Linked DNA regions of Homo sapiens: regions 1, 2, 4, 5 and 6 are each linked to region 3. Evidence: promoter capture Hi-C in 16 types of primary human blood cells and fetal thymus (Javierre and others, 2016). All regions are on one chromosome and are shown on one strand. Each heading gives the region's core, a stretch centred on a gene start or on the middle of the fragment in contact. The rest is flanking DNA. Distances are from core to core; before and after follow the strand shown. Region 1 overlaps KLHL3 (kelch like family member 3). Region 2 overlaps FAM13B (family with sequence similarity 13 member B). Region 3 holds the start of MYOT (myotilin). Region 4 overlaps KLHL3 (kelch like family member 3). Region 5 has its middle 16 kb from the start of FAM13B. Region 6 overlaps KLHL3 (kelch like family member 3).

Region 1 (3,637 bases), core at 561-3,060, 230 kb before region 3:
TCGCCCAGGGTGTGTGGATGATCTGAGATGCCAGTTTACAGAGCTACATACATGGGGATGCTGCTCCTGGTCACCAACAGGTATGAGTATTCAAGAAAAGTCTAACAAGCATCTTCCCACAGAAACACAGTCATAAGTTCTGTTTCCCAAATGCCCCACTCGGGGCTATCTTGTGGGTATGTGAAGCCGCACAGGGCATCATCTGTAATCTCAGTGCCCTCAGATTGGGAATGGGGGGTGCTAAATCTTATATCAAAACAAACTTGAATATACTTTGAAAAAGAGTTCAGAATTTGGACGTATGTTTTAAAGTATTACTCAAAAGCATTTCTGAATGCCTAGAATGTAGGGTGCACTTATGCACTGCAGTATAGAAAAAAATTGAAAAACTCCTGTGAGATGTTTATTACAAAAGTTATTAAACTGATGATGTTCTGGAAACTAGTGCTAGCAGTCCTATTTCCACAAGTAAGGTAGTAGCTACCACTGCTAGGTACCATGTGAAATGTGTTGTCATTTACTTGTCACCACAACTGTGAGGTAGATATCATCATCCACATTGACAGATAGCAAAGTAAAGCTCAGAGAACACATGTAAGTGGCCCAAGGTCACACAGCTAAGAGTGTAGGCAGAGACTGAAACCCAAGTCTACCTGACAGAGGGTGAGGCCAGCCACCCCCCCCAACTCCTGCTCTAGAGACAGGATCCAAGCAAACACAGCTTGCTGCATCTATGTTTGTCAAAACACAGGTCGCTTTCCATTAGTAGGTCATGAAATCAATTTAATGGATTATGACCAGCACATATATTTTTAAAAGCACAGAAAATATGATAAGAATATTATTTCATGAAATATTGGTTTTGGCTATACACACTTACATGTGTCTTCTGGATAGCAATTTAAATGCATTTTGTATTGCAAGGGCATGGTCAAACACAATGAAAACTACTGCTCTGGTTAGGTTAATAGAACTGCAGTACTTAATTATGGTATCACTGCTGTGTCTTTGGTCACATGTTATTAATAAATAAAAAATTAAAGTACCAGTTACCTATAGTTTACATATTTTAATAAACATGTACAAATTCATAGCTGTCCCCACAATGATGTCACTCTCACTCAACGGCATTCCAATATGCTTTCTTGAGTGGAGAGAAAGGGTGGAAGTCACAACCAGCAAATTCATTTGATCATTACCTGTAGCTTGTCTTATTTACCCAGTGGTTCTCAAACTTGAGCATACATCAGAATCACCTAGAGGACTTGTGAAAACACAAGCTGCTGGGCCCTATCCCCAGAGTGTGATTCAGTGGATCTGGAGTGGAGCCCAGAGGCTGCCTTTCTAACAAGTTCCCAGGTGCTGCTGCTGCTGCCACTCTAGGGTTCATACTTTGAGAACCACCTTTTTAATCCATGCTCTGTATGGATTTCCTGATGATATGCCATGAACAACTTTTGCCATTATGAATTATCATAGTGCTTTTTACTTCCCCATGATGTATTTTTGGGGAGAGAAGTGCCCATCAAAATCTGTGTGAACTCGCAAAGGCACATCCCTCAAGTGAACACTTCCCACCATACGGGAGGCAAAACCAGAGCTCACCACCATTACTACAGATCAACCATTTATTCCCCAATATTCCAGAACAGGCTCACCCACTGCCATGTGGGTGGTCACTGGTCATCAGACTTAGTCCATAGCTGTCTGTCACCAAAAGTGGGTAACCAGTGTTCAAAAATTCAGAAATCAGTTCTGACTTCTAAAGCATTCCAAAGGAACCCAGGACACAAAACCCAGCCTCGAGCTGCTGCTGCTGCTGCTTCCAGACAGAAACTTGACTTTCCTGGGTGCCTCAGCTCAGAGGGTCCACTGCTCTGTGTCAAGAGTAGCCTTTTTCAGAGTAAACATGAATTCTACATTACTTCCCATTTGTAATTCTTTGCTTAGACAGGCATCCATGAACAGTTCAAGGGGGATGTTAATGAACACAGCCCCTTGGCAAACACCAGATAATGCCTAACCTACTCTTCAAGGGCAGAATGACATGTTCGTAAATATGCCCAGAACTTGCATTGTCTTTCCGGTTTTGAGTTGGTAAAGCTAAACTGAAGGAAAATACTGCAAGGATTTTCTTTGAAATCTGATTTCTGAAGCTGAGTGAGAATAAAAGCAGTTTTAAGTTTTCTTTCTGCAAGGACTTCAGGCACCCCACACCCTCCCACATGCTGTTCCCTGACTCGAAACCTTCCCATCTCTGAGCACTCTGCCTTAACACCTGCTTATCTTTCAGGTCTCAGTTTAAATGTTATTTCCTACAAATGGACTTCCCTGGCCTCCAGGTCAGAACTACATATCCGTCCTCTGAGATTTCACCTGCCCTGTGTGTTCTGCATTGTGCTGGACCATCAGTGTCTTGTCTTTTGCACCTCTAGACAGTGAGCCCTGCCCAGGCAGAAAACGTATCTGCCTCAGTCACCAAGATAACTCCATATACTTATGTTGCCAGGTAAAAGTGAGGGCTCAAGTGTTTATTTGGAATAAAGAATACATGAATAAAAAGTAAATAGCACATGCAAGGAGTTAAACAAACAATACAGAGTTTTTAAAAATGAAAAAAGAAACTAAACTAGAACGTCATTTTCTTTAGTTAAAATATGTTGGAACACCAGGTTAAAATTCTGGAGACAGTGAGGAAAAAGCAAGCAAAATAAAAAGAGAAAGTGAGAGCTTTTCCCATCTTTTGACTCAACCACCAAAAGAAAGTTTGCTTATACTTGGCATAAGCTATCCAGCTTCTTTTGTAAATTAAAAAAAAAAAAAGGCAAAGTTTTCAGGAACCCTCACCATGCCCCAGAAACTATCTCCCACCAGGGAAGTAGAGGGTACATGCATATTGGAGAAAATCTACCACTCATCTCTGAGAATTTTCACAGAAACAGTATTACAGAAATGCAAATTTTTTAATGTTAAAGTAAAGCCTGAGTAGAAATACAAAAATGATACACGACAGCTAGGTGCAGTGGCTCATGCCTGTAATCCCAGTACTTTAGGTGGCAGAGGCGGGTGGATCTCTTGAGTCCAGGAGCTCAAGACCAGCCTGGGCAACATGGTGAAACCCCGTCTCTACAAAAAATACAAAAAACTAGCTGGGTGTGGTGGTGAATGCCTGTAGTCCCAGCTACTTGGAAGGCTGAGGTGGCAGAATCACCTGAGCCCAGGAATTTGAGGCTGCAGTGAGTTGTGATTGCAGCACCACTGCACTCCAGTCTGGGCAACAGAGTGAGACCCTGTCTCAAAAAAAAAAAAAAAAATAGAATACAAGATAAGGTTTTCAAAACAAACTTGGCTTTGAGCTCATAAAACCACTGGTAAGAGATAACTTTAAACAAACAAAACTTGTACAACTATCTGGGAAAATGAATTATGAGGTTTTGTGGGATAGGACCATCAGTTTCAGAGGTAGCTCAAGGCAGCAGGAAGAGCAGGTATACATCTGCTTCTCTCATAGGCATAGGAAACTCAATTTTTTTGTTTTATTTTTAGTTGGCACATAATAGGTACACATATTTATGGGGTACAGTGTGATGTTTGGATACATGCATACATTGGGTGATGATCAAATCAGGGTAATCAG
Region 2 (4,061 bases), core at 340-2,839, 150 kb after region 3:
ATACCATGTTCCTCAATATAGTCCACAACGTGGCGGACTATGAATGGAACCTCATTGTCTGGATGTCCTCCCTGCTGCAGCTCATCAAGTGGAATTCCAAATATTTTGTTAGCAAGAACGGAGTTGCAGTTACTCAAGGAAGGGGAGGAGCTCTTCCTCATATCTTTTTTGCAGCCAGAAATCAAAGCTGTCTTTTCTGCCAAATGAAAGACAAAAAAAAAAGACTATAATGATTAACAGGTGGCAATATGACTAGATACATTAAAGAAAAATGCTTTACACCTGAATGTGTTCTCATCTATTTAAATGTTCCAGTTAGCAGGCCCATAGTGTGTTCTACAGATGAAGTTCAGTACAATTACCTAAACATATTCCCTATTACGAAGAGTTAGTGCTGAATGCTCCCTTTAGTGTTTGCATACTTATCAAACAATAGCAAAGTTAATCATCAAAGATTTAGCAAGAGGCATTAATGTCCCAAAGACAAATTAAGGAGCAAATTTGGCTCCAAGAAAACCTTTACTGAACAAGCTTATTAATGACACAGGTAAATCCAAACCCGTTCTGGACTGTGCCATATAAAGCTCATCTAACCCCTCAATTCATAAGCCCAAACAGGAGAGAATCCTTTTTAGAAAGTGCAGATCTAATAACCACTTTTTATAAATGATGGGCTAATAAGAACAAGATTAATGAGTTCTTATTTCTACATGATAAAGCAGCTGTAATAAATTTTTTTTTTTTTTTGAGACGGAGTCTCGCTCTGTTGCCCAGGCTGCAGTGCAGTGGCATGATCTCGGCTCACTGCAAGCTCTGCCTCCTAGGTTCATGCCATTCTCCTGCCTCAGCCTCCCAAGTAGCTGGGACTACAGGTGCCTGCCACCACGCCCGGCTAATTTTTTTGTATTTTTAGTAGAGATGGGGTTTCACCGTGTTAGCCAGGATGGTCTCCATCTCCTGACCTCGTGATCTGCCCGTCTCGGCCCCCAAAGTGCTGGGATTACAGGCGTTAGCCACCGCACCCGGCCTGTAATACATTTTTATAAAAAAGAAATTTTTCATTTCTGGACATCAACTTTCAATAAGAGATGTCCTTTTATCAACACTGTTATTTCTTTTTATTTTTTGAGACAGAGTTTCGCTCTTTTTGCCCAGGCTGGAGTGCAATGGTGCAATCTTGGCTCACTGCAACATTCACCGCCTGGGTTCAGGCGGTTCTCCTGCCTCAGCCTCCCATGTAGCTGGGATTACAGGTGTGCGCCACCACGCCCGGCTAATTTTGTATTTTTAGTAGAGACGGGGTTTCACCATGTTGGCCAGGCTGGTCTTGAACTCCTGACCTCATGTGATCAGCCAGCCTCAGCCTCCAAAGCGCTGGGATTATAGGCACAAGCCGTTGTGCCTGTCCTTAACACTGTTATTTCATAATTATCCAAAAGAAAAATTTTCAGAGCCATCTAGTTCAGAAGAAATAGTTATTTGTCCTAATTTTGTAGGAATTGTGATCAGTAAAGAAGTGGGAGAAAACAATGTCTCAGATGGCCATTTCCAATATCTGACACATCAGAGAACAAGTAATCCTAAGAAAAATTTATTTTCTAAAATAAACACATTACACATTTATTACTTTACGTAGGAAAAGAGTATTTGTAAAAGAAAGAAAAACTCAAAGGTTGATAATGAACAAAATGACACCAGCTGGTATTTTTTCCATCACCCTAGAAAAACAATTTCTTTCTCACTGCAAGAGAAAAAAAGCAAATCACAAAAATAAGTCTACTAAAATTCCTAAGTTTACAAAAATAAGGTCCACTGGATCAAGTGTATACCCACTGGATCAAGAATGTCACAACATGACTAGGAAACAATGCAGCCAACTTAAAAGAAAAAATTAACTTAAGGATAGCAAAATGCCATACATTTACATAGTCTCAGACAAGCAACATCCATTCTTCAATGTATCTGGTGCCAGCTAAGAACTATAAAACCTCAAGTTAAATCAAATAGCAGCTACAGGGGCAAGTTCCAAAATCTCTATGGATTTATAGAGCACGAGATAGTTACCATTTTGAAAACTTACCTTTCAGTACTTAAATACCTAAGTTTAAAAAATGGCTTCTGCACCAGCTACCCTCACTGAGCAAGCATTCTTTTGTCATTTATGGCTGTTTGAGATTATGGCAGAAGATCAGCCTGTAGTTCCTCATTGAAGAAATGCAGAACTCGATCAGTACTTCAGCAGTTAATCTACAAGACAAAAACAATTATTTCAATTTCCCACATCTTTAACTGTCAGAAGAGACTATTAATAGAAGCAGCAGTACAGTCCTCTTAAGAGGTTACCTATATTGAAAGGTATTCTTCTGTCTGAAAAATCTATCTGTAACCTAAAGGCAAAACCTTGCAACGGTTTCAGATGATGATGGAAAATTGGAGAAGAATCTTCCTGCTGAAGATAAATAAATAAACGAATTGCAAAGGAGGATATGTGACAGGACACATCTTCAAGGACTACACCATTCAAATAATCCATTTTCCTCAATTATGTGTGGACACCCTACCCCATCCCATTCCTTCCTCATTTCCTCACATACTCAGAACTAAACATGGAAGTATTTTCAAAAGATCAAAGAATCAAAGATATGATTTAAGCTTGCTACTATACTTAAGTACTTTCTTCTTTTTTTTGTATACAACATAGTGGTTGCCTGAGCTCCCTAATTTAGAGAAGCGATAGCATATGTTGGAAAAGAGCAAAAAGAACAGTCCCAGAAAGATTTAGATTCAATTAATAACTCCGTCATTTTGTAGACACATGATGGTGAACAACTTCCATGTCTCTGAGCCTAGGTTTCTTTATATAAAACAAGAAACTACCTGTACAGGCCAGGTGCATTGGCTCATGGCTATAATCCCAGCACTATGAGAGGCCAAGGTGGGAGGATCACTTGAGCCCAGGAGTTTGAGACCAGCCTGGGCAATATAGTGAGACCCCATCTCTACAAAAAAATTTAGAAATTAGCCAGGTATAGTAGTGCCTGTAGTCCCAGCTACTTGGAAGGCTGAGGCAGGAGGATCACTTCTGCCAGGAGGTGGAGGCTGCAATGGGTTGTGTTTGCACCACTGCACTCCAGCCCGGGCAACAAAGTGAGATCCTGTCTCAAAAAAAAAAAAAAAAAAAAAAGAATAATACCTGTACAGCTGTTAAGTTTAGTTTAACTGAGATAACATAGGTATGCAGTAGATAGAGAACCAGTCTCCTCTCTCTTCTTTGCATAATGCTAAAAGACCAGCAATTAGACTAGAGAGAGAGAGAAGAACTTGTTTGGCAAAGTGTTTAATATTTGGTCTCATCATCCTTTGTGAATTCTAATGGTATCATTATCCTCTGTGAATTCTAGTCATCTATTAACAAATCTTTTAATAAGCTCAGTAAACTACACTGCAGGACTCTGCCCAAGAAGCTTCAGGTAAGCAGAAGAGTAATATTAATCAGTGTGGTTTTCAAAGAAGTGTTATTAGTAACATACACCTCCAGGAGAAACATTAAAAACTGAAGGGAAGGAAAACCACATTCCCATAACAAATCTTTTAGTTGATTATTAGTTGCAAAACATCCTGAAATGCCTGCTAAGACATGTAGTTAATCTACCTATCTATCCATTTGAAAACAATTTCGAAGTTAACTTCAGAGATAAGTTATTTAACAGACTTACACTAAAAGTCAAGCTGATATCCTCATGACATAAAGGGGGATTTGCTTGATGTACTATAAATGAAAACTCACTACAAAAGTCTGTCAGGGAGCAAGTTTTATACATCACTAAAATGGCTACTCAGTGTTTAGAATGCCTTGTTAATGAAATCAAGAAGCTATTTTCTTTTTTTTTTTTTTCGAGACAGGGTCTCACTCTGTCACCCAGGCTGGAGTGCAGTGGTGCAATTATGGCTCACTGCAGCCTCAAACTCCTGGACCCAAGCAATCCCCTGCCTCAGCCTCCCAAATTGCTGGGCCTACATGTACACACCACCATACCCAGCTGTATTTTTAGTAGAGAGGA
Region 3 (3,973 bases), core at 1,427-3,926:
AAACTTTCTTCACTCCTTAGTTCTTCCATCCTCAATGTGACGTTTTCCTTTTCAGTTGATATAGCAGAAATGAGTTTCATCACACACATCTGACCTCCGAATTTAAAAGAAGTTCACAGCACCATTTTTTTTTTACAATGGCATATATATCTTATATTTTTGAAAGACAAGAGCTATATATGAAGAGGGAAGAATGAGAGACAGTTAAATAGCTACCCTGTTTCTGAAACTGACGATAGACAAGGAATCCCTTAACATGTAACAGGAAAGGTTTCAGTGAGATAGTAGGAAGTTACTATATTTTGTAAGGCATTTGAATAATTTACTGAAGGCCCTTACTGATAATTTAGAAAAAGAAATGGAAAAGGTTGTCTTTGTGAGCAGGTTGTAGTAAAAGTTCACCCATCTGGCATTGTAATAATTCCAGTCTTAAGAGTCTATGATTTTTCTCAAATAGGCAATTAAACCATTCAAATAGCTATATTTGTGAGGAAACAAACCACCATTCAAAAAAGCAAATCAAACATTAAAAGGCAGGAACAAACAGATTTACAGTAGATTATTAATATAGCCCCTGACTACTGAGAATGGTATCATAAAAGAGGACCTACTTACCTTTCCTAAATCATCCCTTGATCCCATTATAGCAAAAACTTTAGCCTTGACGTACCATGAAGGCTATCACATGTAACACACGGTAACCTGGGTTGTATCTTACAAAGACCTAGAGAAGAGGCAAAGCTTGAAAGACAAAGAGTAAGCAGAACTAAATTCTTCCTCGAGTGTAGTATGCTTAGAACCTGCTGTAGGCAAAATTGGGAATTTAGCAGGTTGTCCTGGATGTCTTCCCTACTTGGCTGGTGAGGTATACCTCAAACTTTTAGTGCAGAGAGACCTCAAATCTATTATTTCCTTTTCCATGCCCTAATCAAACCCTGTTCTCCAGCAGAACCAAATGTCAGTCACATATACCACATTTAAAATTGCTTAGAATAGATAGGCTGGGCATGTGGTTTATGCCTATAATTCCAGTGCTTTGAGAAGCCGACGTGGAGGATCGCTTGAGGCAAGGAGTTTGAGACCAGCTTGGGCAACATAGCGAAACTCTGTCTGTCCAAAAAATTTTAAAATTAGCTGGGTATAGTGCTGCATGCCTATAGCCCTAGCTACTTGAAAGTCTGCAGAGGAAGGATCTCTTGAGCCCAGGAGTTTGAGGCTGCAGTGAGTTCTGATCATATCACTGCACTCCAGCCTGGGTGACAGAGTAAGACCCTGTCTCTAAAAAAAAACTAATAATAAAATAAAATGCTTGAAGGAGTGTCTTACTCATAATAAATGCTATATATTGGCTATTATTACTTTTATCCTATCACTTGCATTTGTATTTTAAGTCTCTCTAATTTAGATGGAAAGGTTTTGTCTGTATTACTGGAATTTGAAATATCAGTGAACAGATGTTGAAGAATATTTTGGGAGACTCCTGAAATAAGACTTTGTAGGCAACCACCTACTCACCAAGTCTAGCATGCTTTTTCTACTAAGGGCTGCACGCCCAGGCAGAAATTATCAAGCTTTCTTTGAACACCAAAGAAAGGTACACCTACTTGGCCAGCTGTGAAGGATTTTATATGGCTCATATGTGCTCAAACATCTATTTGCTGGATTCTAATATACATGTTAATTCAATCAAGATTGGGGTATCTACCCATGAGGGAGGGGAACTGAAGCCACCCCATGGAGATAATTCTACTCCCTTGGCCCAATCCTCATGCCACCTACCCTACTTCACCACATTTGCTGATTCGACATTTTATTCTTCTGCAATTATTTACTTCCCTGCACAAAAATGGAAATCTAAATACCATGATGGTCTCTGTGACAAAAAGTGAAAGGAAACTAACTGTTAGGAATAAAGGGAGATGAACATGCATTGACAGCTCTAATTATATAGATTGCTTATTTGTTTGGTTGTTTCTTAAGTGTTTCAAAACTCTTTCAGAATAAAAGTACTAGGCAAAAGGGGCATATGCCATACAGATTCAGAAAACTTGCTCAAGAAACACCATCATGTTTTTCCACCTCCCTACCTTCCCAGTGACATGTCACTATGACCTCGGTCTCCTGCTTTGCCCAGACTGCCCTCCACCTCGGAACAAACTGCTAGTACTGAGAGACCTCAAATCTATTATTGAATCCTACTCTCATTAGGCAAAAGAAAAAAGACTTCAGATGAAGAATTATGCAATACAAATCAATTGGGAGCCCATCTATCACTGGTCTTATTCCTGGAGAAGTCTTAGTATAATAGATAGAAGAACTCCACTCTTGAAATATTATTTTCCCTTTAGTCCTCTCTCTTAAACTGGGAAAATTCAAAGTCCCCACCATAATAAAGAAATAAGAGGGTTTTTTTTCTATTTTTCCCATTTCCCTATTCACTGCCCTTCCCTCACATGAGCTTGCTAAAGTTCATAGTCAAAATTCACGTCTGAAATAAAGAGGCTTGCAAAAGAAGCTCATGTAATCCCACTCCTTAAATACCACTAAGACACGTGAGATATTGTTTAGATTGTGGACTCTTACTTTGACATGCCAGCATAGGTAGATGGACAGGCAAGCACATCAGATGTCACTGTTTGGCAGCTGATAAAAGTCAGTGGTGCTATAATACTAAGCACAGAGCCACTAGATTAGTCTGTGAGGGAAGGAGATGCCTCTTCCTTCCCTTCAATAGTGGGTTAAACCCAGCTGGCACCCTCTGGAACTACGGGTAAGTCCCTTCTTTATTCCTACTACACTTTTAGGTCTTGTTTTTGTTTTTTGTCCAAATCAGATGAGTGTATACAAAGATGATTTTCAGATAAAAAGTTTGAAAGCCACAACATTATAATGGTATTACACAAAAATTTAAAGAGAAAGCGACTCATTCATTTCATTGAGACTGGAAGGCATTATACAAATGATAGAAGGAAAGATAGCTGTGTGTCATTATTTTTAAATCACCATTTTTCCTTGAAAAGGGACACTTGATCTGATGTAATTGTGGTGATGTCTTATGAACGCAACATATCCTCTATCAGTCTTCTGTGCAAGTCTATGCTATATTAGAGACAGGAAAAAAATGTTAAGATTTTTTAAAAAGGAGACTGAATAGTACTTTATTTATAAAAATCTTTGAAATTCATTTAACATTATTTGGAATAAAATGACCCTGTCATATAACAGAATCTATTATAGAATTAAATTGTTGAACAGTAACTACAAACATAAAGAAAATACAGGATCACCTGCGTAAATGTCTGCATAAAATTTTGACACATGGATAAAATGAAACTTATGAAATAACATATTTTTAATTGGGCTTTTAAAAATATCACTAATTATTAACAATGTAGGCCAATATCAACATGTACAAGACAGTTGCCATTCTGAAAATATATGTAAAGAAAAAAAGAGAACTGTTTCTGGAAAATATCTACTATTTCATAAGCGGTTTATTCCTTGCTATCTGAAATGAGTCTCAATAATGTACCTGCCCAGAAAGAAATTTAGGAATCAAACTCTGGATTCAATTCTGCAACAGACTGAATAAACCGATAACTACAAAACTACTTGCCTTGAAATAGACTTTTTTTTTAGATCTACTCAAGGCCCTCCTTCAGGATGTTTTTCCCCAACAATTTAAATGCCTAAAGTAGTTCATTTCTAAAATGCATTCTAGTTTAATGTATTTGTGTTCATAAACTTGAAATTAAGGAATATTTAACTTTTTAAGTATTCTTTCTCAATAGCGTCTTTCTCTTGGCTGTTTAGTTGCATTTCTGTTTTTTCCTAAAATTGCTAGTTTTAATTTAACTCTAAACTACATAGGCAACTTTGAAATACTATTTTTTGAAGGTATCCTATTATTTAGGATGAAACTCTTTGGTCTGGAAAAGTTTTATTAACATTTTATCCAAGACAGTAACTAAAA
Region 4 (3,635 bases), core at 28-2,527, 250 kb before region 3:
TGGAGTGCACATGGCCTTGGCAGCACGCCCAGTAGAGGCAGTGCTTTGTAGGGAGGGAGACATGAGGTGAAACCAATTGCAAAAATCCAAAAACAGAAAACATGACTGGCTAGCTTTCAGTGGAGGGACCCTTCCCCGGAAGACGACACATAAAAGTAGCCTCTCCCGCATGAAAGTCTAGCTTCTCAGTGGTGGGGGAGGGGCAGGGAATTCACCTATCATCTGAAATTGAGAGCTTCTGTGAATGGCATACATCAGATCCCAACCCCAGCCTCATCCCCATCACACAGACACACCGAAACAAGTCTCAAAATTTCCTCAGAGAAGGAGAAAGGACATTTCTCATTCCATCAGCTTCCAACCCACAGCCAGGTAGAGTTATGAAGCCACAGTCATCCCCACTTCATAGTGAGACCAGAGCACTCAACTAAAACATGCCTTGCTTCCTTTGGAGACATTTCTTCCAGGTCCCCCAAAGCTGGATATTTTAGCCTCTTCTGAAGGCTTCTAAAAATTCTGGGTACCTTGTTGTTCTCCAAGCATCTTGTTGAAGTAACATGTGCTTAACATCAGAAAGAGAAGTTTTGTCTTTAGGAGAGTTGCACATTTAGGGCACAATAAATATACAGTAAATACACAAAGTGGCTCACTGGCTGGGAAGACTTCGGGGTTTCTAACTGCAGGGGCTGGGGGATGCCAATCTCCTGCAGCACCTGCTTGGAAGTAGCCCAGTCGTATCAGAAGTCCAACATCAGGATTTATAAAGTTCCTTGGCTTCCTGTAGGTGGATTCTCAAAGTAGGGAGGGTGTCCCAGACTGCAAGGTATGAGACTATTCTCCAGACACAAGACTTCCCCTGCTTATGCCAGAAATTTCAGCATGAGCAATTTGCTAGTTTAGGAACAGCACAACTTTAAGGTTTTTTAAATACAAATTACTCCATGCCCCCTCAAATGCCCGCTCCTCAAGATGCTTGAAGTTCTATTGTTAATAATTTTTACCTGTGAATTAGCAAAGCTCTCACCAAGCTCCCTTTTTAAAATGCAAGCACATCTTAGGAAGCCTCAAATCCAAGGCCCACTGATATCTCCTACCTCACAGGGAAAGCAGTAGTGGGGTTCTTGGGGGTTGGGGAGAGGGTGCACACCCTGGAATAGGGGGAAAGCACAAGAAAAAGAAGACAAGGACATTAGACAGACTTGACCACTGTCACAAAGTGCCAAGGGCCAGCTCTAGTGGTATATTCCTTTGAAGCCATCCAATGTCCATCTGAATCACACACGACCCCATCCAACACAGGCACAAATCTATCTTTGGGTCTGGAGGAGGGTGACCTCTTATTTATCCTCCAGACCAGAACACTTCTGAGTAAAATGGGGTGCTGTGAATAATTAAACTGGGATAATAAGTATAAATGGGGACTGTCCTGTCCTGGGAAAACCTAAAAGTAGGACCCTCTCTGAGACCATTATAGGCAGGAACTGAATCCTTACCACTTTGGTTTTTTGTTTTTTTCCTGTTTTTGTTTTGTTTTGTTTTGTTTTTCAGTGTTACCCGAGGCTTCTCTGAAGAGCTAGTTTTCCCAGCTGAAGAGACATAACACCTCCCAGGCCTGGAATCTATGACATCAAAGACCAATGGCCTAAACCTGAAGACTGGGCAGTTCTCATCTGCTTCCTGTAGGAGAACTCAAGGAAAAACAGTGAGCTGAGAAGCACAGGGAACCCATTTGTCCCTTATTCTAGCACACAGAGGACACGGTGCAGCTTCGAGAATTTTCCAGCTCTTCTGCAGACAAAGTCACAGTAGTTAAAGTACATAAGTGGGTGTGGCCAGAGAACTGCCCCTCTCACTGGTTATTTCTGGACATTCCCAGACTGTCCAACTGGACCTTCAGAAGAAAGCAGCTTTAGTAGTCTCAGGGTCCCCATGGGACAAATCCAGAAGAGAGGTCTCTGTGACTTGATTTTTAACACAGCGAAAGGATCAGTAGTAAAGAAATCCAGTAGACTGTCACACACGCTCACCCCCCAACTTAGAGAAACATAGAGAAACACCATGGTCTACACACACACACACACACACACACACTCCAGGGTCTGTATTGTCCCTGTAGAAACACCAAAACAAAGCCCAAAGGTGCTGCCTGGGGATGTCAAGACCCCCCTTGCTCAGGGCATAGGCCAGAGCACCTCAGGGGAACGGGGGTGGGTAATGGTGTCCACACTGCGATGAACAACACCAGTCTGCCAAGTCAGAGGAGAGCGGTTCTCACAGCAGCACAGACCCTCCCAAGCAAGTTGAATCCAGTCACCAAGGTCCTGCTGTTCAGAGTCACAGGCAGCACCTGCTCCTTCCTCCACCTCCTGGCAGTAGGAGTTTGGGTCACAAGGACTTGTGAATCACGGCAACACCTAATAAGAAAGGGGGAGAAAGTTATCATCTTAGCTTCTCCAAAATTACTCAGAGTCCCAGTGAGTTCATGAATCCAAGATATCCTGAGTCACAGCCAAGGGAAATGTGTGCAATTTTTATCCTAATATTGAAGTGGACTCAGGCTGCTAGCAGCTGGCTGTTCCCCACTCCAACAGCCAAGTCCTGGCAAGACACTTGAACCTACGAGCACAGTCCCTCAAACACCACTGACTAGTGGCCTCACCCTGTGTCATCACATGGACTCACTGTGGTGACTCCCATCCCCAGCCCTAGCACCCAGCCCAACAATGCTCAGCGCCCAGGGGCAGCTATGCAGTTCTAAATTTGAATCACTGTAAGAGAAGCAATGGGTGATTCATCTCTACTTTTAGAAGACACTGGAATGAAGCGGAAAGTACAGCAGGCTGCCTTCATGGGAGCAAGAAAGACTGAATTCCATTCCTAGCTCTGCCACCAGTCAACCTGCACTATGGCCTTTGGCAAGTTCTTTGACCTCTTTAGGCTCAGTTCCCACACAAATGTCATCTAAGAGACCCTGCCAGTGTGACAATCTCGACTTTGATAAATGCTCCAGACATGTATGCTATGTTACTGTTTTAGTCCGAGTGAACCATGCTCAGCACCTAACTATAAATCCACGCATGACCCAAAATCTCACTGTAAGGGACTGAGGCTACATGGCAGATATTACAGGTTGATTCCGTCAACATCCTTCCTACTTGCTATCCTCGACTACAGCCACCAGCAAGTTGCAAGCTCAGGTTCCCAGACTGCCTGGCAGCTAGATGTGCCACGTGACCCAGTGCTGGCCACTAAGACTGTAAAGGCAAGTGTGCCAGTGTTGCAACGCTGGCTTTGTTCTTGTTGTGACTGGAATGCTCACGCAAGGCCAAGGGGAGGCAGCAGCCCTTGATAAAGCTGGCAGAATAGAAAAGAGAAGAGAAACCTGGTTCTGTCAGTCTGAGCCCCCAGGCCAACCTTGGATTTCTTTCTACTTGAGACAAATACACTCACTTCCTTATTTAGGAAAGTATCTGTCAGGGTTTCTGGTGCCTGTTGCTAAATGAAATCCTAACTTACAGGTGTTTACAGGCAGGATATTACTGCAGCCTTATTTTAACATAGTCCCACAACTATGAAATGTTCTGATTGAAGATGAGATTGAGAGAACATGGCTAAAATCAAGCCAGGATACCCCA
Region 5 (3,566 bases), core at 89-2,588, 180 kb after region 3:
ATGGAGTGAGCTATCTGTAGAGAAGAAACAAAAGAACAATCATTTTTAGTTGGGGGGCAGAACAAGCATGTGGCAAAGTACTACATAAAGATGGCTAGTGTAGGCAGAATAATGATGTCCCAAAGATGTCCACATTCAGACCGGGCGCGGTGGCTCATACCTGTAATCTCAGCACTTTGGGAGGCCGAGGCGGGTGGATCATGAGGTCGGGATATCAAGACAATCCTGACTAACAGGGTGAAACCCCACCTCTACTAAAAAAAAAAAAAATTAGTAGGGCGTGGTAGCACACGCCTGTAGTCCCAGCTACTCAGGAGGCTGAGGCAGGAGAATTGCTTGAACCCAGGAGGCAGAGGTTGCAGTGAGCCGAGATCACACCACTGCACTCCAGCCTGGTGACAGAGCAAGACTCCATCTCAAAAAAAAAAAAATGAAGATGTCCACATTCTATTCCCTAGAACCTGTGAATATGTTACGGCACATAACAAATGGGAATAAAGGTTATAGGCAGAATTAAAGTTGCTCAACTGACCCAGAGATGGGGAAATTATCCCGGATTATCTGGGTGGGCCCAATGTAATCACACAGGCCTTTATAAATGGAAGAGGAAGGCAGAAGACACTGGAGTGACTGGGTATGAGAATAACTCAATCTGCCATTGCTGGCTTTGAAAGTGAATGGAGGCCATGAACCAGGGAATGTGGACCACCTCTAGAAGCTAGGAAAGGCAAGCAAACAGATTCTTTCCTATAGACCCCTAGATATTCCTCTAGGGGCCTGACTTTAGCCCAGTGAGACCCACGTCAGACTGCTGACCTACAGAACTATAAAATAATACATTTGTATTGTGTTTTTAAAAAATTTTAAATAACCTTTTTATTTTAGAATAACTTTAGGTTTACAGAAAAGTTGCAAAAGATAGTACAGAGAGTTCCAAGTTTCCCCTAATGCTAGTACCTAATGCCTTTTAAAATAGAAAGAAAGAAAAAAGAAAGAAAGAAATCCAAAAAAACAAAAAACAAAACTCTAGAGCAGTTTTAGGTTTACAGAAAAATAAAGCAGAAAGTACGATTTCCCATATACCCACTGCCCCACACATACAAATCTGTGTGTTTGAGCCACTAAGTTTGTGGTAATTTGTTATAGCAATTAAAAACAAAACAAAACACTAATACAACGCCAAATGGCACTTTGGAGTACAGGGAAAGAGAGGTAGGTAATTTAGAGATGCATATATACATGGTAAAACACTAAAGAAAAATAATAATCCAAAATTCAATATAATTGTTACTTATAGTGGAGGGTACAGAACTTATAGGTGTGACCCCGCACCCCTAGGACACAGTACACTAGCCTATAAGAGGCCTCTATGTGAACTAGAAAAAAGAATTGTTTTCTGAGCAGATAATTAGAAAAATGACATATCCACTGGGTAGGAACCAGCCTATGGACCCTCAGCCTAGCACCAGGTGGTGTCTTTGTACCCAAGGAAAAAGCTCCATTTTTTAGGAGGCAAATCCCTCTCCCCTTGGTAAGGCACCTTTTTGCAGTGGCCAAATTGTACCAGCATGCTGGCCGACCCCTAGGACCTTCAGAGCTTTTGTAACATTCTAATTCTCAAGCCAAGTAGAAGGTATATAGGGTTTGTTTTTCATAATTATTTTGCAAATTGTATATATGCATTACATGCTCTTTCTCATATATTCACAATATTTTTAAAAGTATTCAGCAATGTGATGAAATATAGCATCATTGTACCCCATGCAGACCTTTGCCACTACCTCAATGTCAGTCTCCTTCTGACTACAATCTAAAAATCAGAGAATTCTGAAGGACATTAGAGTGATACATTTCTTTTTTTTTTTTTTTTTTTTTAAGGCGAAGTCACTCCTTTGCTCAGGCTGGAGTGCAGTGGTGAGATCTTGGCTCACTGCAACCTCCTCCTCCCAGGTTCAAGTGATTCTCGTGCCTCAGCCACCCGACTAGCTGGAGTTACAGGCGTGCGCCACCGCGCCCAGCTAATTTTTGTATTTTTAGTAGAGACGGGATTTTACCACATTGGCCAGGCTGGTCTCGAACTCCTGGCCTTAAGCAATCTGCCTGCCTGGGCCTCCCAAAGTGCTGGGATTACAGGCGTGAGCCACTGTGCCTGGCTTCAGAGTGATACATTTCTTGTTTTGTTTTTGTTTTTGTTTTTTCCTCAAGATAGAGTTTTGCGCTGTTGTTGCCCAGGCTGGAATACAATGGCGTGATCTCGGCTCACTACAACCTCTGCCTCCCGGGTTCAAGCGATTCTCCTGCCTCAGCCTCCTGAGTAGCTGGGACTACAGGCGTGTGCTACCACGCCCTACTAATTTTTTTTTTTTAGTAGAGGTGGGGTTTCACCCTGTTGGTCAGGCTGGTCTTGAACTGCTGACCTCAGATGATCCACCCACCTCTTCCTCCCAAAGTGCTGGGATGACAGGCGTGAGCCACCGTGCCCGGCCTAGAGTGATACATTTCTTAACTCCATGAAACCTCTTTTCATTTGGAGTAAGTTACCAAGCAAAACAGGATTTTCCATCTGTCAGCCTCCATTCCTATCTTCAATAAGTAGTTCTGTCTGTTTTCTCACTCGGATATTGTCCACAGTGCTGGGAGCTAAATGTGCAAACTACAAAAAGTTTGTGGGCACTTATAACCCAAGAAAGCTTCCAAAACCTAAAGAAAAATTTCATTATTAGGGATCCAGAATATCTAATAAAATCCGACATGTTTGGCCAGGCACAGTGGCTCATGTCTGTTATCTCAGCACTTTGGGAGGCTGAAGTGGAAGGATTGCCTGAGACTAGGAGTTAGAGACCAACCTGGGCAACAAAGTGAGCCCTTTTCTCTACAAAATAAAATAAAATAAATTTAAACATTAGCCCGGTGTGGTGGTATGTGCCCATAGTCCCAGCTTCTTGGGAGGCTTAGGTGAGGGGATCGCTTGAGTCCACAAGTTCAAGGCTACAGTAAGCTATGATCACTCAACTGTACTCCAGCCTGAGTGACAGAGTGGAGACCCTGCCTCAAAACAAATAAAAAGAGGGCCAGGCATGGTGGCTCATGCCTGTAATCCTAGCACTTTGAGAGGCCGAGGCAGGCAGATCACCTGAGATGGGGAGTTCAAGACCAGCCTGACCAACATGGAGAAACCCTGTCCCTACTAAAAATAAAAAATTGGCCAGGCGTGGTGATGCACGCCTGTAATCCCAGCTACTTGGGAGGCTGAGGCAAGAGAATCCCTTGAACCCGGGAGGCGGAGGTTGCAGCAAGCTGAGATTGGGCCACTGCACTCCAGCCTAGGCAACAAGAATGAAACTCCGTCTCAAAACAAACAAACAAACAAACAAACAAACAGACAAAACATCTGACATGCCAACCTGAAAGGAAGCAAAGAGGCAGAAAGAACTTGGAAGGTTCTATGCCAGCCCCACCATCTTGGACTCGGAGATACTACAACTCAGAGATTGCCTTGCCTCTTCCAAAGAAGCCCAAGACCTTTCTTTTTTTAAAATAGAGGACCTTGGATAGGACAAGACTAC
Region 6 (3,545 bases), core at 347-2,846, 200 kb before region 3:
CATAAGCACATACACCATAGAAATCCCTGTCTAGTTCATTTTTTATTAGGAACTCTTATCGAGCTATGTCCCTCATCCTCACAGCATTGTTTGAACGACTATGTTTCTTCCACTAGCCCTTAAGATCCATGAGAGACCTTGTCTTATTTGCTGGCACATAACACAAACTCAAATATTTTTTAAGTGAATGAATGGAAAATGAGTTCAGAATAAGCATGGAAGGAGATGTGTGGAAGCTGCCCAGGCTGGAGCAGAGAGCAGGGCTGGGGAACAAGGGGTTGGAATCTTAGTGGGTAAGGCAGAGTCAAAGGCAGATAGTCTGCCTTTGCCAGGTTAGGTGATGGGCAGCCACAACCCCATTCTGCCTTGTATGTGGTTGGTTAGCCACACCTCTTTCTACTTCCCTTTATAGACTGTGAGCCTATGCAGAGTGAGAAGTGTACCAGCTCTGTCTCTGCACGCCATCTCCCAATGCTGCCTAGCACAACACAAGGTAACTGATTGGCAAAGCTTAGCTGAAGAATGAACTACAAGTCCTTAAGCGGGTAGCATTTATTGATCACATTCTTCCCCATCAACCAGCTTAATTTTTGTTATAAAAACAAAAAAGCAAGCTGAATCTACCAAAGTCGATATTTAACCTTATCTTTATTTTTGGCTTCACTTGTGTAACTAGTTCCACTTAGTCACACTGTTTATCTACTCAGCTATGAAAGCCACAGCATTCGGCAACAACAGTGACCTTCTCAGCAGCTAGAGAAGGCCACATATTTTTTTCATTCAGACTTCATGCTTGAAAAATAAACAAGCAAATAAACTTCCAACTTGCTTTAGCTTTCAATGTACCCAAAATGGTTCCCAATAACCCTTCCCACCAAGGGACTCTCCATAAACATCGCCTCCCCAAATTCTCAAGATAACCCAATGATTAAATACTCTTAAGCCTTATTAAATGACTTGCCCAAGTCCCAGAACTAAAAAGAAGCAGAGCCAGCTCTGCTTGGTTACATACAAAACCAACTTCAGTGCTTATGCTCTAAATCCATTATTCTTAGCTGACTCTCAAATGTCTAATAGGTCTAATAGCAGGGGGGTTGCAAACTGCTGCCCACAGGCCAAATCCAGCCTGCCACCTGTTTTGGTAAATAAAATTATGTTGGAAGGCAGCCACACTCATCGTTTACATATTGTCTATGGCTGCTTTCACATTACAGTAGCAGAGTTGAGAAGCCACGACAACATAAAGCCTAAAATATTTACTATCTGGCCCTTCCTAGAAAAAGTTTGTCAACCCCTGGTCTATAAAATCTAAGCAGAGACTATAGATTCAATCATAGGATAGGGTGATATCTACTTAGCTACTACTTTTTGTGATGAAATAATCAGCTGCTCATAGGTACACTTAGGGTTTCACTTTTTAAACAAAGAAATAGCCCCATTTCCTCACTGATTAATGTCCTAGAACCAATTTCTTGCATGCTACAAGACTGTCAAGTGGAAAGGAGTTGGAGAAAATCAGATTCCATAGCTCCCAGCTCACCACACTTCAGATGTAAGCACAGGTCTTGGCCAGAGAATACCAGATGAATCCAGACCTTCCACTCCAACACTCTGGACAGACAGGCAGCCAAGCTAGGCTGGACTTGCACACCCCAAGGAAAATGAGGAGTCCTGGGGTACTTTCCCTGCTTTCAAAATGTGTTTTGAAGATCAAGAAGCACTCCAGTTAAAAAGGCAGGGCACTGACTTGGCAAGGGGAGAAGTTCAATTGGGAGCAATTCTCAGCAAAACATAGGAAGAAGAGAAAGACGCTAATTTTGACAATATCAGGGAAAAAAAACTAGGTTCCTATACATGGACCTGAATTGTTACTCAATCTGAGAAGGACTAACTTTATTAATAACAACAAGCACAGTGCTAGGCATTTTACACATATGATCTCATTTAATCCACCAACAATCTCTGTGAAGTAGGTGTCACTGCTCACATTTTACAGATGAGGAAACAGCCTGAGAGAGGTTAGCAAGCTGTACAAGGTCACACTGCCAGGAAGAATAGATCTGATGTGAATTCACCTCTAACTCCAAAAACCCATGCTCAAACATTATGCAATTTGCATCTCAGAGACACAATTAATTTTAAAAACCTAGGCCAGGCAAGGTGGCTCACACCTGTAATCCCAGTACTGTGGGAGGCCGAGGAGGCCAAGGTGGGCGGATCACGAAGTCAAGAGATTGAGACCATCCTGGCCAACACAGCGAAACTCCATCTCTACTAAAAACACAAAAATTAGCTGGGCGTGGTGGCGCACACCTGTGGTCCCCAGCTACTCAGAAGGCTGAGGCAGGAAAATCGCTTGAACCCAGGAGGCGGACGTTGCAGTGAGCCGAGATTGCACCGCTGCACTCCAGCCTGGTGACAGAGAGAGACTCTGTCTCAAAACAAACAAACAAAAAAAACCCTGGGCAGACTGTTGAGTTGGGGAACTAACTTCCTAAACCTATAATCCTAATTACAATCCTCCACGCCCTCCTGGGACACCTCCCCTAGGTCTCCTATTCCTTTCCCAGGGATTGAGGCAATACCATTTACCAAATCTCCTGCCATGCTTTTAAATCAAGAAGATAGTGCTTCTAGACAAAAGAATGATTCTGTTGGATTCCTGTTTTTGTTTCTTAAATGAAAGCTTAACAAGACTTGTGTTAAGCATACTCTCACCTCATTGCCACACACAACTCCAGGGACAACTGGGAGCAGTGGTGTGCGGCAATTGGAGCTCACTGTGCACGTCTCTTCCTAACTCCACGTTTAGTGACATTACACTGGTAGTTGAAGTCAGCCTTGATGAAAATATTTACACCATGGAAATCAGCAAATGAATCAACAGATGAATCAGGGCTTTTAGAATGTTTTTTAGCGAGCCAGTTGTTAAACATTTACCAGCACACCACTGGCTGAGCGATGTCCTGGTCTGAAGTCTCCCTAGAAACCTACCCAGTTGAATTCTTCTTTCTGACCATACCATCACCATTTCACACAACACTTAAAAGCTCTTTCTTGTAGTTGCTTCATTTCAGATTCACAAGGACCCTGTGAAACTGCTAGTCATTTGCAAAAGGAGAAAGTAAGGCAGAGAGAGACGAAGTCATTTGCCTGACATTACCCAACAAATTAGTGAGAAGACAGCAATTAGAACCACTGATTTCAATCCACACTTTCACAGCACACTGCACATTTCATTCATACCACATCTCTCATTTTATAGCTATATATTTGTGCATATATTTGATAAAATATCTCTCCTCTATGTGAATATAAGTTCTGCAAAGGCAGGTATCTTGTTTTGATCTGTTTGCCAATGTCTCTCCTGTGACTAATACGCTACCTGCCACACAGAGAAATATTTCTTAATAGGATGAATAAATTAATAAAAGCATGAATGAATGTATGTATGGTTCTCTTCCTACAGCAGCACACTGCCAGATATCTGACTTCAGATAACCAAAAATGATGAAAAAATTAAAACGGTAACATCACTTGGCCTG

What was found. The method cuts DNA at HindIII sites, captures the fragments that hold promoters and counts their contacts. A CHiCAGO score of 5 or more calls a contact.
Region 1: a fragment that was not itself captured here is called in contact with the fragment with the promoter of MYOT in region 3 in 1 of 17 cell types (total CD4 T cells); the score reaches 5.2 in total CD4 T cells.
Region 2: a fragment that was not itself captured here is called in contact with the fragment with the promoter of MYOT in region 3 in 1 of 17 cell types (naive B cells); the score reaches 5.2 in naive B cells.
Region 4: a contact is called between a fragment that was not itself captured here and the fragment with the promoter of MYOT in region 3, in 1 of 17 cell types (total CD4 T cells). The highest score is 6.1, in total CD4 T cells.
Region 5: a contact is called between a fragment that was not itself captured here and the fragment with the promoter of MYOT in region 3, in 1 of 17 cell types (naive B cells). The highest score is 6.0, in naive B cells.
Region 6: a fragment that was not itself captured here is called in contact with the fragment with the promoter of MYOT in region 3 in 2 of 17 cell types (M2 macrophages and M1 macrophages); the score reaches 5.5 in M2 macrophages.

The regions. Positions count from the first base shown.
Region 1 is chr5:137,640,058-137,643,694 of GRCh38, forward strand. All of the region lies in intron 8 of KLHL3 (kelch like family member 3), which reads right to left. Among named protein-coding and RNA genes, the nearest start is that of MIR874, 5.8 kb to the right of the region's middle. The HindIII fragment of the contact is 6,724 bases long and covers 1-3,637 here.
Region 2 is chr5:138,018,951-138,023,011 of GRCh38, forward strand. FAM13B (family with sequence similarity 13 member B) reads right to left here. Exons shown (of 24, transcript NM_001385994.1): 2 at 2,081-2,247; 3 at 5-196. The coding sequence starts at 161. Among named protein-coding and RNA genes, the nearest start is that of FAM13B-AS1, 12 kb to the right of the region's middle. The HindIII fragment of the contact is 2,121 bases long and covers 530-2,650 here.
Region 3 is chr5:137,865,184-137,869,156 of GRCh38, forward strand. It overlaps MYOT (myotilin), which reads left to right and starts at 2,677. Exons shown (of 10, transcript NM_006790.3): 1 at 2,677-2,770. The region is part of intron 2 of PKD2L2-DT (PKD2L2 divergent transcript); the gene reads right to left. The HindIII fragment of the contact is 5,979 bases long and covers 1,570-3,973 here.
Region 4 is chr5:137,619,713-137,623,347 of GRCh38, forward strand. It overlaps KLHL3 (kelch like family member 3), which reads right to left. Exons shown (of 15, transcript NM_017415.3): 15 at 1-2,414. The coding sequence ends at 2,386. Among named protein-coding and RNA genes, the nearest start is that of MIR874, 26 kb to the right of the region's middle. RefSeq lists an enhancer at 3,207-3,256. The HindIII fragment of the contact is 4,842 bases long and covers 1-3,635 here.
Region 5 is chr5:138,047,087-138,050,652 of GRCh38, forward strand. It overlaps a transcript of FAM13B not described here. Among named protein-coding and RNA genes, the nearest start is that of FAM13B, 16 kb to the left of the region's middle. The HindIII fragment of the contact is 2,700 bases long and covers 1-2,688 here.
Region 6 is chr5:137,665,972-137,669,516 of GRCh38, forward strand. The region is part of intron 6 of KLHL3 (kelch like family member 3); the gene reads right to left. Among named protein-coding and RNA genes, the nearest start is that of MIR874, 20 kb to the left of the region's middle. The HindIII fragment of the contact is 2,176 bases long and covers 509-2,684 here.